5 separate regions of the Homo sapiens genome follow, and all the other regions are linked to region 3. The links are contacts of gene promoters, found by promoter capture Hi-C in blood cells and fetal thymus (Javierre and others, 2016). All regions are on one chromosome and are shown on one strand. Each heading gives the region's core, a stretch centred on a gene start or on the middle of the fragment in contact. The rest is flanking DNA. Distances are from core to core; before and after follow the strand shown.

Region 1 (2,700 bases), core at 126-2,625, 100 kb before region 3:
CTCAGGCCCTCCTAGACCTCAGGGCCTCATGAAAGACAGAGTTTGCTTAGATTTACTGATAATTTCACTTTGTGACTTCACTTTGTGGCCAGTCCTTTCTGGCTCTCTGATCTTCAGACCACAAAAATGTCATCCAGCTCTAAGTTTGATCCCAATTCTACGCAGACTAGAAAGGGCATGCTGGGACAATGACAAAACATTAATTTTGGGGGCAAACAAGCTTTGTTTCCAATAAATAACATAGAATGAATTCCTGGAACATAAGTGTGTTATGTTCACCATAAATGTGTTACATAAGTGCAGCCTGATCACATAATACTAAAAAATCAGTAAAAATACCGATTTGAAATTATTTTTATAGAAACATGATTTTACCTGAACTTCCCTATTATTTTTTCTATGGACTCAAAATTCTTCTCTTATTTTTATTTTATTTATTTTCAAGGAGAAATTCATTGTCCGATATTCACTTTTCAGAAAATTCAGTCAAAATTTGCTTACAAGCCGTGCAGATGTTTCTTATAACCACTAGGGGTCAGACTACTACGTTAGTAGAAGTCAAACCCAACTTGAAACGTGGTATTAATTGGTTGAGGATCAGGCTGACATTCTCCTGCATAAGAACAGAAGACTGACCATTTAAATTAAACATTTTATAAAGGAGATAATGAGAAAGAATGCATTTGACAAGAGAGACTCAGAAAGTTGAAACTATCATATATATAATAAATATAACATAGTAAAGAAATTTCATCCTTAATAAAAATTTCAATTATTCACTTGCTCATTCTCATTGGCAAGATATTACTCCAGTCTAAGTGGGCTCAGATCAGAGGATTAATCATTGAACTGGGCAAATGTTAAGAGAGCAGAAACAACTAAAATCATGAAACTGTCAACAAAAAAGAAGAAATCCTCATTTATAAAGGATAAACCACATGACTAGCAGAGGATTGAGATGAATGGCAGAAACATTTTTCCAATGGATTTCAGCCATGGTAACAATAAATCTGAGTCATCTCACAGCAATGGGTGTATTCAGGAGTGTGGGCAGAGGGCAGCTCTGGACTGGGCCTCTGTTCCACTCCCAGCTCTGCCACAAATTGACCCTGTGGTCCTGAACACACTCCTTCTCTTCTCCTGATCTCAAAATGTCTTGAGTAAGATTACATGATTTATAAAGAATCTTCAGGCCTTAAAATTAAACAGATTTATCTAACAATATTGTTACATAAAAGGTAAGAAAGTGAGGGGAAAACTTGCCAAGATTTAAGTTTTAACAAAAATTTTACAAATGAGGGTATTCACTCTCAAGATACATTATTACAAATTGTGTTTTTTAAAAATGGAACAAACTGAGATCATAGACCATATTTACTGTCAGACAAAGTAATAAAAAGTCAAAATTTATTTACATTTTTAATGATAGTGTTTTGAAGTAAATACTCTAAGTGTATATGTAAACATATATGCGGGTTATTCCCTGGAATGATAAACAAATTAAAAAGTGGTTACCTGTTGGGGGCGGGGTAGAATTAAATGGATATGGATAGTGTGGCTATAAGAATATAAGGTTTGCTTCTTCATATATTGTTTTGATGTTTTTGTGATTGTATTATATGATGTATTACATTTTTTAAATTTTGAATATATCCATTGCCTATTCAAATTTTTTAAAAATTAATTTTAAACTTTATACATAGGACAAAAATGTGGGCCAATACAAAAATAAACACAACTGAATATGAAAATCCTCCATGATTTGAATGGGGGTTAGAAATGACACAGGGATATTCGTTACTAATATAAGTTGGCAATACAACAGTGATACTGTGTTTTAAATGGCCTGCATCAAAATACCTCAACCAAATTGGTCACATCTTAATGGTTGTATCTAAAGATTTTATTTGGTAGATTTTTCACCTGTGCCCCAAACCCTCACTGAGCTGCTTATACCTCATATGACACCAAATCAGGAGAAGGAAGAAGTTCCTCCCTCCCCCTTTTTTCTTTACATACACACATGCATGCACACACAGGCACACACTGGCTTGTGTGTCAATGAATATTAATATATGCAAATAAACAATGGAGATGGTTACAGGGAAATTGATTCTGCAAATTGCTAACCTAACTCACAGCCTTCTCAATATACAGGTCAAATGTAATTTCTATCAAAATTCCAGCAAGAGAATTTGTAGATGTAGACAAGATTATGGTAAAATGTATATGGAAAGGCAAAGGAACTAGAATAGCTACAACCATTTTGATAAAGAATAAAGCAAGAAGAATTACTCTACTTGATTTCAAATTATATAGCTACAGTAATCAAGGCTACATGGTGATAAAATAGACACATACATTGATGGAGCAGAATGGAGAACCCAAAATAGACCCATACAAATATGTGCAGTTACTTTTTCACAAAGGTGCAAAAACAATTCAATGGAGGAACGATAACTTTTCAACAATGGTGCTGAAACAATTGGACATCCGTAAGCCAAAAAGATGAACGTGGCCCTAAGCTTCAACATCAAATTAAAATTAACTCAAAAAGTATTAGCCTGAGCAACATGGTGAAACCTCATCTCTAAAGAAAAGTACAAAAGATTAGCCAGGCATTATGGCATGTGCCTGTGGTACCAGCTACTCAGGAGGCTGAGGTGGGAGGATGGCTTGAGTGTAGGAAGTCAAGGCTGC
Region 2 (2,700 bases), core at 149-2,648, 98 kb after region 3:
AAGGATCCTCAGCCCATCCTGGGAGTTCTCCCTCTTCTTCCAACCCCCTCTATTGTCACCTTTACCCCACCCAAGAACAGCAAGTAATGTTTCTTATGCACTCCGTGGCTTCACGCTCTTGGTCTCTTCTATGCCCATTTTGAAGAAGATGCTGGCCTCTGCTATTAGTATCAGTAATTCTCAACTGGCCACCAGCTTAGAATTCTAATTATGTCCACCATTTAGCCTGAGATAGTTTTTTGTTTATTTATAAAAATCTTTGTTGAGATCTTACTGTGGACAAAAATTAAGATAATCAACTGTTTTCATGGGATTTAGAGAGAGAGAAATTAATCAGCTATGAAATACTGAGTTGATTTCTATGAAAGAAAACATAGAACAAAAGAACTTGGTGTTTTCAGTAGAAAGCGAGTGACAAACTGGGATATGAGGGTTGAAAAAGAGTTTCCTGGGGACATGCGGAAAGCGTGGGAGCAGCAGGAAAGGGTAGCCACTGTCAGAGGAAGCACTGCTCCCTGTGGCAGAAGGAAGCGTGACAACTTGGAGGAACACAAAGAAGGCCAGTGTGACTGCAGCTCAGCAAACAGAGAGTGATGTTGAGGGAGGCTGATAATGGCTCTCAAAGATAGGTTTACATCCTCATCCTGGCAACCTGTGAAGTTCACCATATTTGGAAAAAGGGTCTTTGTGGATGTAACTAAGGATTTTCAGCTGAGGTTACCCTGGATCGTCATCCTGCTGCGCCTACATGCCATCACATGTGTCTTTATACAAGTGACACAAAGGGAGATGAGACACACAGGGAAGAAAGCGATGTGAATATGGAGGCAGAGATTGGGGTGATGTCGCCATGAGTCAAGGAGTGTTGGCAGCTATCAGAAGTGGGAAGGGGCAAGGAACTGATTCTCTCCTAGTGCCTCCAGATGGAGTGTGGCCTTCTGGCCTCCTTTAGACAAAAAGGAATGCTGTAGAAAGTATAGAAGACATCATTCTCACCCTCATGCTCCCCATCAGAAACACAATAGAAATGTGAGCAGGAACATGTCTTTGTATTGAGCATTTGCATATGCTCATGAATATATGAAGAAATAAAGTATGGTTGGGGATATCTTACTCTCAAAAGCTTCCTGGTATGGTTTCCTCCTCTGAGTTGGAATGCCCTCTGGTCACATCTTTTGTTTTTACTTATTTGATGAAATTTATGGACAGCATTAAATAAATCAAGAGGGAAAACAACGTACCTTTTTTCCCTAATGCTGAGTGAGATAAGGTGTTTTTCTGATTCCTACTGTGCTACCTACTGTGCTATTTTTTCCTTGTATAACAATACTTTAAATTCTTTCAACACGGAGTTTTGTTGTAATGACAAAGAGAGTTTTAACTGTGGAGTTGGGGTCAAATTTGTATGATTAAGAGTATTAAATGCTGATTGCAGAGAATGAATGGCTATAATTCTGCCCCTTCAAAAATTTAGTTTTATCTAGAAAAACTCAGAAAGGTACAAAATGACATTTTAGATTAATACTCCTCAGTTTTACATTTGGGCAAAATTTAGCAATGACCTTTGTGGAGGTTTAGAACAAAATCTATGCTATTGATAGGTGAATATTTGATAACTGTATTCATGCCGACAGATTAACTACGTGCATTTAAGTAAGTTTGAAATAAGCTTATTTGTCTTTTTTTTTTTTTTAAGGGATAAAGAATGGCTACCCCCTAAGCAGAGCAGCCTGAAATAAGCTTATTTGTCTTAATGGAATTTTCTAAGTAATTATTATTTTTAAATATTTTTATTAAAAATTACAAATATGTAACAGTAAAGAGAATAATATCATGAATCCCCATGTAACTAGCTCTATTGGACAGTCATATTGTATTTATTTCCCATCCACTGCCTCTCACTGGATTATTTTTATGTAAATTATATCATTTCATTCTTTAATATTTTTATATGTGTATATTATATATATAAGTATTTTAAATATGTGCTAAAAACACAATCAAAATACCAGTATCACAACAATAAATCCCTTAATATCAAATATTACTTGGGTTTTAGCTTTCCCAATTGCCTGATGTGTATTTATATTTCATAGATGTAAATTCAAAGAAAGTATAAAAATTGTTTTTCAAATATATTTTATTTAAAAGGATGAAACACATTTTATACACCAGAAGGATTAAAATAGTGAAAATACAGCAAAGAACTTACTGTCTGTTTGAACAGTTTGGCTATTGTACAAAAAGAAATATAAATATATAATTATGTAACTTGACATTTTTCCATCACATAAGAAATTTTTTAAATGAAGAATGACCAAAAATTATACAGTAAAGCCATGTAATATAATAGAGTTGCTTGGCATTCAGGGCTATGTAAGAGAATATATTTTTCAAGTAAACATGCACTTTAGAAGTTGTGTATCAACCCCATCAAAAAGTGGGCAAAGGACATGAACAGACATTTCTCAAAAGAAGACATTTATGCTGCCAACAAACATGAAAAAAAGCTCATCATCACTGGTCATTAGAGAAATGCAAATCAAAACCACAATGAGATGCCATCTCTTGCCAGTTAGAATGACGCTCATTAAAAAGTCCGGAGAGGATGTGGAGAAATAGGAACGCTTTTACACTGTTGGTGGGAGTGTTAATTAGTCCAACCATTGTGGAAGACAGTGTGGCAATTCCTTAAGGATC
Region 3 (2,700 bases), core at 12-2,511:
CCCCTTGCACTCCAAACAAGCAGGTCTGTGTACCACCATCTAACACCCCAACAGGGCCAGGCTAGGGTGAGGTGAGTCACAGCACTTAAAGGTTCACCAAAGAATTCAGTAATCAAGGTTAATATTTTAATGGAATATTTAAAAAAATCAAAATTAATATCAAAAATGCATGATGAAAAATAACAAAATTTTAAATAAAGACAGGGTAAGTTTAGGGGTTTTTCCTATTGCTTCAGGCTCAAAAGTGCCTTCCGGGGCACTGTTATCGGCCCTGCAGTGACTCCCCACACAGATACTTTTACTAATGATGTTTCCCAAAAGTTAGTTCTTACAACCGCTTTCTACATTAGTAACGTCTTTCTTCTTGAACGCTCCAGCATTTAAGTGTAGCGCTCTACTGTCAGGAAAACCCATTTCCCCTAGTAACTAGTAGTACTTCGAAGATATTCTGAATCATCTTGGATCCTTTCCAGCACTTTCCCAAACCACAGTGAGCACTCAGCACCACTTCGCTAAAAGAGTGCAGAATCACAATGCTCAAATCACTGTCTGGGGGGTTCAGCAGGGAGGGGACGCAGATATGTTTTGTTTAGTCCAGGGTGTTTTGAGAAAATTGAATTTGTTATCAAGATTTTACAAATCAGGATATTGTACATGAATATACTCCGTCATTTCTGGAAAAATCAGAAAATCTAGCAACACTAGGTCTAATTCTTGCCCGATAGCAAGGGACCCTGAGAGCAGATAAGCGGCCCTGCCTTCGGAGCTCTCTCCAGTTCGCCTTCCCCCAGTTACAGTGCCTGTCAGGCCCCATTAGATCTTTGAGTTTGCTATCGTAAGAATAAAGGAAGGAGCGCACAGGATAAAAACCCATCGGCTGGGTCTATTCGTTTTTTCCTAGAGAAAAAAAAAAATGTTTCCTGGTTGTCCTTTCGAATATAGTCTCACAGAGAAGCTCACAGAAGCAGCCCACCTTTCTAGCCCACAAACTTCCCACAAGCCGTGAAAGTCGCACCGGCTCTTGCACCCAGATCGGTTTCTCCCGGGTCTTTGGCTCAGGGCCCCCGCCCCTACATTGGCCTTTCCCTTCCTCTGCCACCTCCGCGCTCCGAGGCCTGGGGCGGGTCGCGGGTCCCGGCCCCCAGCCCCCAGCCCCTAGCCGCTGCTCTTTGCCCCGGGCCAGGGCGCTCGGGCTCGCCCACGGCGGCACTGAGCATGCTCAGAGGCGGCCGCGCGGGCAGGTTTGCTTCGCAGGCGCTCGCACTCGGCGGCGGGCGGGCGCGCGGCTGCAGCTGGAGCTCCAGCGCCCGGAGTTGGAGTTGCCGGGAGTTTCCCCCCAACCCCTCCCTTTTCGCGCGCGGCAGCAGGAGCCGGCGCGGGAGCCGCGAGCGGCGGCGAGCCAGCACCCGGGCCGGCTAAGCCTTGTCCGGAGCCCGGAGCCCCGCGCGGGGCAGCCCCCCGGGGAGGAGCCTCGTGCTCTGGGACGCGTGCCGCGCACTGGCACGGCAGGGGCGCGAGCCAGGCTGCACGGTAGGACCGGGGCGAGGGGAGCCAGGCGGTCAGGGCGGAGGCCAAGCCCGGGAGATGCGGTTGCAGCCGCCACGGCTGTTGGGGCGCCTGGCGCTCCGTCCGAGGCGGGTGGCTGTGAGGCCAGGGGAGTAGGCAGGCTCCCAGAGAGATTCTTCCAAGTTGGCGGGTGGCGGGAGAGGGGGCCGCGCGCCCCGGCGCAGCTGCTTTGTGCGCGCAGAGAGGGACTCGTGTCCCTGGTTCTCTCCAACCCTGGGACCCGTTGTGCGGGCAGTATTGGGCAAGCCGCAGAACGGAGCGATTTCCTCCGAGAAAGTTGAGGATGGAGCCTTTTTTTCCGCACCGTCCCCGCGATGGCATGGGCCCCGAGAATGCTGCCCCGAGGCTCCCAGTGTGGGGGAGCTCGGGGTCGCTGCGCCTCTAGCTTGAGCGCAGAAATCCGCGAATCACTCCGATCTTCGCGAACTCTGGCATCTTCTAGGAAAATCATTACTGCCAAAACTGAGGCGAGCTTTTCTGGCGGGCACGGCACCCTGCCCCCAGGGCGCTGGCCCTGGGCGATGCCCCCTTTCCGATCTCAGGCTTGGTCAAGGGCGCCAGGTTCCGAATTCGCGCTTGCCGTGCACGCCGGCATCGAGCCTCACCAACACCGCCGGGCAACGTGGCTGGAGTAGGTGGGTGGCTTGATTTTCCCTCCAACCTTTCCTCAGGTTTACAACACCCCGCCACCTCACCACCCCACCCCGTTCATCTTCACAGAGGACAGGACCTGCAGGTGGAGAATTTGGAAAGACATCTTGTTCTTTAGGAGAAAGTCCCCGGGGTGTATCTGCCCTTGGTTCTGGCCCCAGGATTTCATAACGAACCTTCTCCCCTTCCTATTACGCTTCCCTAGGGACTGGGTGGGAGAGAATAGGATCGGTAGGTCCGCAGGAACTTCCATCTCATTCCACCCTCTCCTAAGATTGCCTTCCGGGCGACCCCAGGACCCTGGAACTGGCATTGTGCGGATTGTAAGGCTGTGGAGGATGCCGACGAATTTTTCCTGGCTCCACTTTTTTCACTTCTTGTTTTGAGTTTTGGGGTTTTGCCTGCACACTAGTCAGAGCTGCGCCCTAGTCAGAGCCACCCTGGGGGTGGAGGAGCTTCAGCCGAGGCTGTGAGCTGCTGTTC
Region 4 (2,700 bases), core at 154-2,653, 110 kb after region 3:
GTAATTGCCCTGTAAACTGCCTTCAAAAAGATTATGTTGTTCAGTATATATAAAGGCATAGTAACAGAGCAACATCATATATAAGTCTAATTCTAAAAGAACTCTTAGTAAATGTAAAAGCATGTGTTTAAAAAGTGTGTCGTGGTTTAATTGGTAGTCTCTTTACTTTTTTTTAAATTATATTTTAAATTCTGGGGTACGTGTGCAGAACGTGCAGGTTTGTTACATGGGTATACATGTGCCATGGTGGTTTGCTGCACGCATCAACTTGTCACCTACATTAGGTATTTCTCCTAGTGCTATGCCTCCCTCCACCCTCACCCGCCGACAGGCCCTGGTGTGTGATGTTCCCCTCCCTGTGTCCATGTGTTCTCATTGTTCAACTCCCACTTATGAGTGAGAACATGTAGTGTTTGATTGTCTGTTCTTGTGTTAGTTTGCTGAGAATGAAGGTTTCCAGCTTCATCCATGTGCCTGTAAAGGACATGAACTCATTCTTTTTTATGGCTGCATAGTATTCCATGGTGCATATGTGCCACATTTTCTTTTTCCAGTCTATCATTGATGGATATTTGGGTTGGTTCCAAGTCTTTGCTATTGTGAATAGTGCTGAAATAAACATATGTGTGCATGTGTCTTTATCATAGAATGATTTCTAATCCTTTGGGTATATACTCAGTAATGGGATTGCTCTCACGCCAGTTAGAATGGTAATCATTAAAAAGTCAGGAAACAACAGATGTTGGAGAGGATGTAGAGAAATAGGAACACTTTTACACTGTTGGTGGGAGTGTAAATTAGTTCAACCATTGTGGAAGACGGTGTGGCAATTCCTCATGGGTCTCTTTACTTATTTACTGTTACACAAATAATAGTGCCTGTTACATAAATAATAGTACCTTTTGACAATCAGTGATGACTTGGATATGATTAAATCTAATCTATAAGATTCTTTACAAATCTAATCTGTAAGAATAGATTTATTTGCAAAGTGAAGAGATTTCTTTCTTCACATTCTTCCTATGTGTATATTTTCCATTTCTCCTCCTTTCTTCAAACTAGTGACCTCTTCTATCTGAAGGTGGCATTACTCAGCATCCAAAGAGCATGCCAACCTGGTTTTGGTGCATCCAATGACAGTAGGGTTTTTTGTTTTGTTTTGTTTTTTGTTTTGTTTTGTTTCTGGCCTGTGATCCATATGTGAGGAGGAGGGGGAGCAGGAAACAACAGTGTTGAAAAGCAAACAGCAAGTGTTCAAGTAGAGTCTGGGACTAATGGAGCAAAGCAAGCCAGTAGACTCTCAAATGGCTGTAAAGTTTAACTCTGATCTAACACAGGGCTCTAGTCAGTGGAACCACAGACACAAAAACCTGCTACAGACACAAAAAATAAGCCAAGTTCAAAGACATCTGGTTCTAGCCAACCTAAAGTTATACTGTTAAGTCAAGGAAGAGTCACATGTGCTTTGTGATTCTACACACATTCTCATATTTCTCTCGTTTGTTTTGGATTCTTGGGCTAGATCTCTCCTGTGAAAGGAGATATGAAAGAGAGTTGCCAAATTGTCTCTGTCTGGTCTGTGCATGGATGTTAAGTTGTTAGTATGTGTTCATCAGGAAAAGATTATTTCCAAGAGCAGTGCTACATCTGAGAAGAAAGACTTTCTAGGTGGAGTCATGTTGGCTTATCTTGGATTTCAATAAAAGAAGTCAAAGAAAAAGCAATCTAGTATAATTGTATTTTAGTGTCATATAATCTGAAATAACAAGTGTGTTCGAAAGTAGACATTTTATACTCTTTGCAGACACATTTCCTCTTAGATGTTTTTAGAAAATACTGTTATATTGTATGCAAAGCCCATATAACCCCATCTTATTAATATCAATCATCCTTTTGAAACTTCACCACACATATCTCCACAACATGGAGATGTTTTTCTTCCTTTTGAAATTTAGATTATTCTTACTTGTTTTGACTTAGTTTGGCTCTTTCTTACTTCTTGCTGAGCCTTTTCACATGAATCATATATATGGATTTATTTGGTCAGGGGACGGATGTTGCTTTTTATCTCTTTTTCTTTTGTTTGTTTTGACACTTCTCTTAACTTCACTCTCAACTTTATTTTCTAGCTTTTCCTTCATTGCCTCAAATTTGTTTCTTTCTATAATTTGGAGATTCCTATATTATAAATGTTGTCTAGCAAAACCTATTTGCACATAAGAGGCCCTGCAGGATTAACTGTGGCTTATTGTTATGAGAAGCTGAGTGTATCTAATGATCCCACATTTGCCCTTGCTGCTTTTTCATATTTACTAAAGGATTTTAATTCAGTGCTATAGTGCAATACTAATTTTTATAAAATACATTTCTAGATGGTGCACATTTCTCTGTGGGAAGATCAGTCTCTTTTAGAGGTTTTCTGTACCTTCGTTTCGTATTCCCCTCTTCCACCATCCCATTGCTCCAGGAGACCTAAGGAACTCTGTGAGATGCATTAATGTTATAAATGTAAAGTAAATCAAGTATTTTTTGAGATTTTTTTTAAAAAGAGTATTAATATCACTTAAGGTTCTTAAAATGTGTCTTTTGGTGTTCTCTATCAGAGGTCAGTTTGCCTCTGACCTCCTAACAACAAAATTCTTAGGAATTTTGTTTTAGAGAGTGACTTTATTGATTTTATAAACAAATTATTATACTTCT
Region 5 (2,700 bases), core at 44-2,543, 81 kb before region 3:
CACGTGTCTTTTGTATTAGAAAAATTATAGATTGGAGACATGATTTGACAATCCTATTGCAGAACTAATATTTTGGGGAGATCCTTGATTTCTAACCCATCTCTGGCTGGGAAGCACATGCTCTTTGCAGTTCACCATGTGGCCTCCCCACCTCCCTGCCTCACTGCCTCTCTACCCAGGACTCTCTGACATATGCCATCACTTCTTCAGTCTTACTCACTTCTTTTTTACATACATATCTTTATGCTTCAGCTAAATTTAACTATGACCATTTCTCCAAAAACAAGCTATAGTTTCCCATCTCTGTGCCTTTGCTCATGTTGTTCCTATTTTCCTAAATTGCCCCTTATTTTATCCCTGCCTTTTGAAAGCTTAACAACCCTTTGAGGTCCACCCACACACTAAATCCTCCTCCAGGTTTTTTATAATCCCTCCCGCTGAATGTGATCTCTTCCTCCTTTGTACTTCCACAGCAAATTATGCATTATCTCTTTTAAGATAATTTCATTCCTACATTGCCAACATTTGAGATGTTGACTTCAGTGAACATAGAATTTTAATTTTTTTTCTACAGCATTGAGAATAGCATCTTATACTTAGTAAGCATTTAGTAAATACATACTGGATGGAATTTCATTGCCAAACGCATACTTGAACCTTTAGTAAAATTCTTCTGCTAATCTAAGCTTGGTCCCTTTTAGCGTACTCTAATCGCATGAGGATTAAATTCAAAAGAGAAAATATAAAATAGGAAAAAAAGGAGGATACTGAAGTTTTGTATAGGTTGCAAAAGTCCCAAATGGTTCTGAGAGCTAGGAATTTCTACTTATACGTTCAGTGACCTCACGGCATAGAAGAAAATCATCCATGTTTGCAGCTGAGAAAGATAAATGGGGAATTGGGGGATGTAAAAATGGGGGTGTCATTTCATAGAGCTGATCACTCTCTCTTCTCTTGGTTCCCATGATGACACTCTTGCTTTGCTTTCCTGACATCCAACTGATCCCAGTTCCCTCTCCTCAATCTCTTGATGCTGGAGTACCCCAGAACTTAGTTCCACCTCTTCTATTGTTCTCCATCTACCCCTTCTTCCTAAGAGGTTAACTTTGCCACATGAGCAACTTACAATCCACTAGAAAATGACTGATAAGGAGCACTGATCTTAACCATCATAATATATTTCCAGCTTCTGACATTGGCACAGAGACTTGCAGGCTGTGAGTGACAGGTGGCAGTGAGTGTATAAAATCAGAACTTTAGTTCACCTAGGTGTTTCTTTGGGCATGTGATGATTTGTAAGACTTGTGAATAAAATCAAGTGCATGTTTGAGAACCAGCCGTACCCAGTGATGTGTATCTCCTGCTTCAAAGAGCTTTTGCTGGTCTAGACCCAGGTAAAGATTTCTTTTACCTGGAAAGAAAAGGATAAGTAGAAATGATCCTGAACCAATGTTTTTCCTTCTGCTTTTCTTGATGGTAATCAGAGAACTCCACAGACATTAGACCTCATAAGGCAAGTCACTGTGTGTTTACACATGCCAAATGTTTTGTTCTTTGGAGCCTTTTTAAGAATGGAAGAAAATAAAAAATGCAAGAGCCTTTTATGATCATTTATTGTACCGCTGCTAATTTGAAGCCTGCCACTCATAACATGGGGAATGATGATTACTATACATATAGTACTATATACATAGAAATATATAGTAATATAGATATCATCATATACATTTATATATAGTATATATTATATACAATAATATATAGTATTTAATATATACGATAATATATCGTACATAATATATACGATAATATATCGTATATATTGTTTATACATAATATACTATATATTCCTATTTTCCTAAATTGCCCCTTATTTTATCCCTGCCTTTTGAAAGCTTAACCATCCTTTGAGATATATATTATATAATGTTATATATTATAGCATATTATATATTTTATTATATTATATAGCATACATAATATAGTATATATAAAACAATATATACTATATATAGACATGTCTATATATAGTATATATAGTAATATATGTTACTATGTCTATATATAGTATATATTGTTTTACATATAACATATATAGTAATATATATTACTAGATATTAAAATATATATAAAAATATTACTGTATATTTCTATATATAGTAATCTTATTATATATTACTATATATAGAATAAGATTACTATATATAGAATATATTCTATATATTTCATATATATAGAATATATTACTATATATTTCATATATATAGAATATATTACTATATATTTCTATATATATAGTAATCATCATTCCCCTTGTTATGAGTGGCAGGCTTCAAATTAGCAGTGGCACAATAAATAATCATAAAAAGTTCTTGCATTTTTTATTTTCCTTCCATTCTTAAAAAGGCTCCGAAGAACAAAACATTTGGGATGTGTAAGCACAGAGTGACTTGCCTTATGAGGTCTAATGTCTGTGGAGTTTTCTGACTTTATATATATGTGTGTGTGTGTGTATATATATATATGACTATATATATATGAATATATATATATGACTATATATATATAGTACTATATAGAGTAATCATCATTTAATAATCATTCCACAATGAGAGAAAAAGAGAGAGAGAGAGAGTCTTGCTCTGTTGGCCAGGCTGGATTGCAGTGGCACAATCACAGCCAACACGGTCTTACCTGTAC

What was found. Contacts are between HindIII fragments. The CHiCAGO score rates a contact against its expected background, and 5 or more counts as called.
Region 1: a fragment that was not itself captured here is called in contact with the fragment with the promoter of STXBP6 in region 3 in 2 of 17 cell types (M2 macrophages and monocytes); the score reaches 5.8 in M2 macrophages.
Region 2: a fragment that was not itself captured here is called in contact with the fragment with the promoter of STXBP6 in region 3 in 1 of 17 cell types (erythroblasts); the score reaches 5.7 in erythroblasts.
Region 4: a fragment that was not itself captured here is called in contact with the fragment with the promoter of STXBP6 in region 3 in 2 of 17 cell types (M1 macrophages and M2 macrophages); the score reaches 5.9 in M1 macrophages.
Region 5: a fragment that was not itself captured here is called in contact with the fragment with the promoter of STXBP6 in region 3 in 3 of 17 cell types (M2 macrophages, monocytes and M0 macrophages); the score reaches 6.6 in M2 macrophages.

The regions. Positions count from the first base shown.
Region 1 is chr14:25,148,951-25,151,650 of GRCh38, reverse strand. The region is part of intron 2 of LINC02286 (long intergenic non-protein coding RNA 2286); the gene reads left to right. Among named protein-coding and RNA genes, the nearest start is that of LINC02286, 6.0 kb to the left of the region's middle. The HindIII fragment of the contact is 2,305 bases long and covers 223-2,527 here.
Region 2 is chr14:24,951,295-24,953,994 of GRCh38, reverse strand. All of the region lies in intron 2 of STXBP6 (syntaxin binding protein 6), which reads left to right. Among named protein-coding and RNA genes, the nearest start is that of STXBP6, 98 kb to the left of the region's middle. The HindIII fragment of the contact is 546 bases long and covers 1,126-1,671 here.
Region 3 is chr14:25,048,708-25,051,407 of GRCh38, reverse strand. It overlaps STXBP6 (syntaxin binding protein 6), which reads left to right and starts at 1,261. Exons shown (of 6, transcript NM_001394410.1): 1 at 1,261-1,530. LOC124903295 (a long non-coding RNA gene) reads right to left here and starts at 1,064. Exons shown (of 2, transcript XR_007064091.1): 1 at 974-1,064. The HindIII fragment of the contact is 7,485 bases long and covers 1-2,700 here.
Region 4 is chr14:24,934,764-24,937,463 of GRCh38, reverse strand. The region is part of intron 2 of STXBP6 (syntaxin binding protein 6); the gene reads left to right. Among named protein-coding and RNA genes, the nearest start is that of STXBP6, 110 kb to the left of the region's middle. The HindIII fragment of the contact is 3,446 bases long and covers 1-2,700 here.
Region 5 is chr14:25,129,725-25,132,424 of GRCh38, reverse strand. The region is part of intron 3 of LINC02286 (long intergenic non-protein coding RNA 2286); the gene reads left to right. Among named protein-coding and RNA genes, the nearest start is that of LINC02286, 25 kb to the left of the region's middle. The HindIII fragment of the contact is 1,209 bases long and covers 689-1,897 here.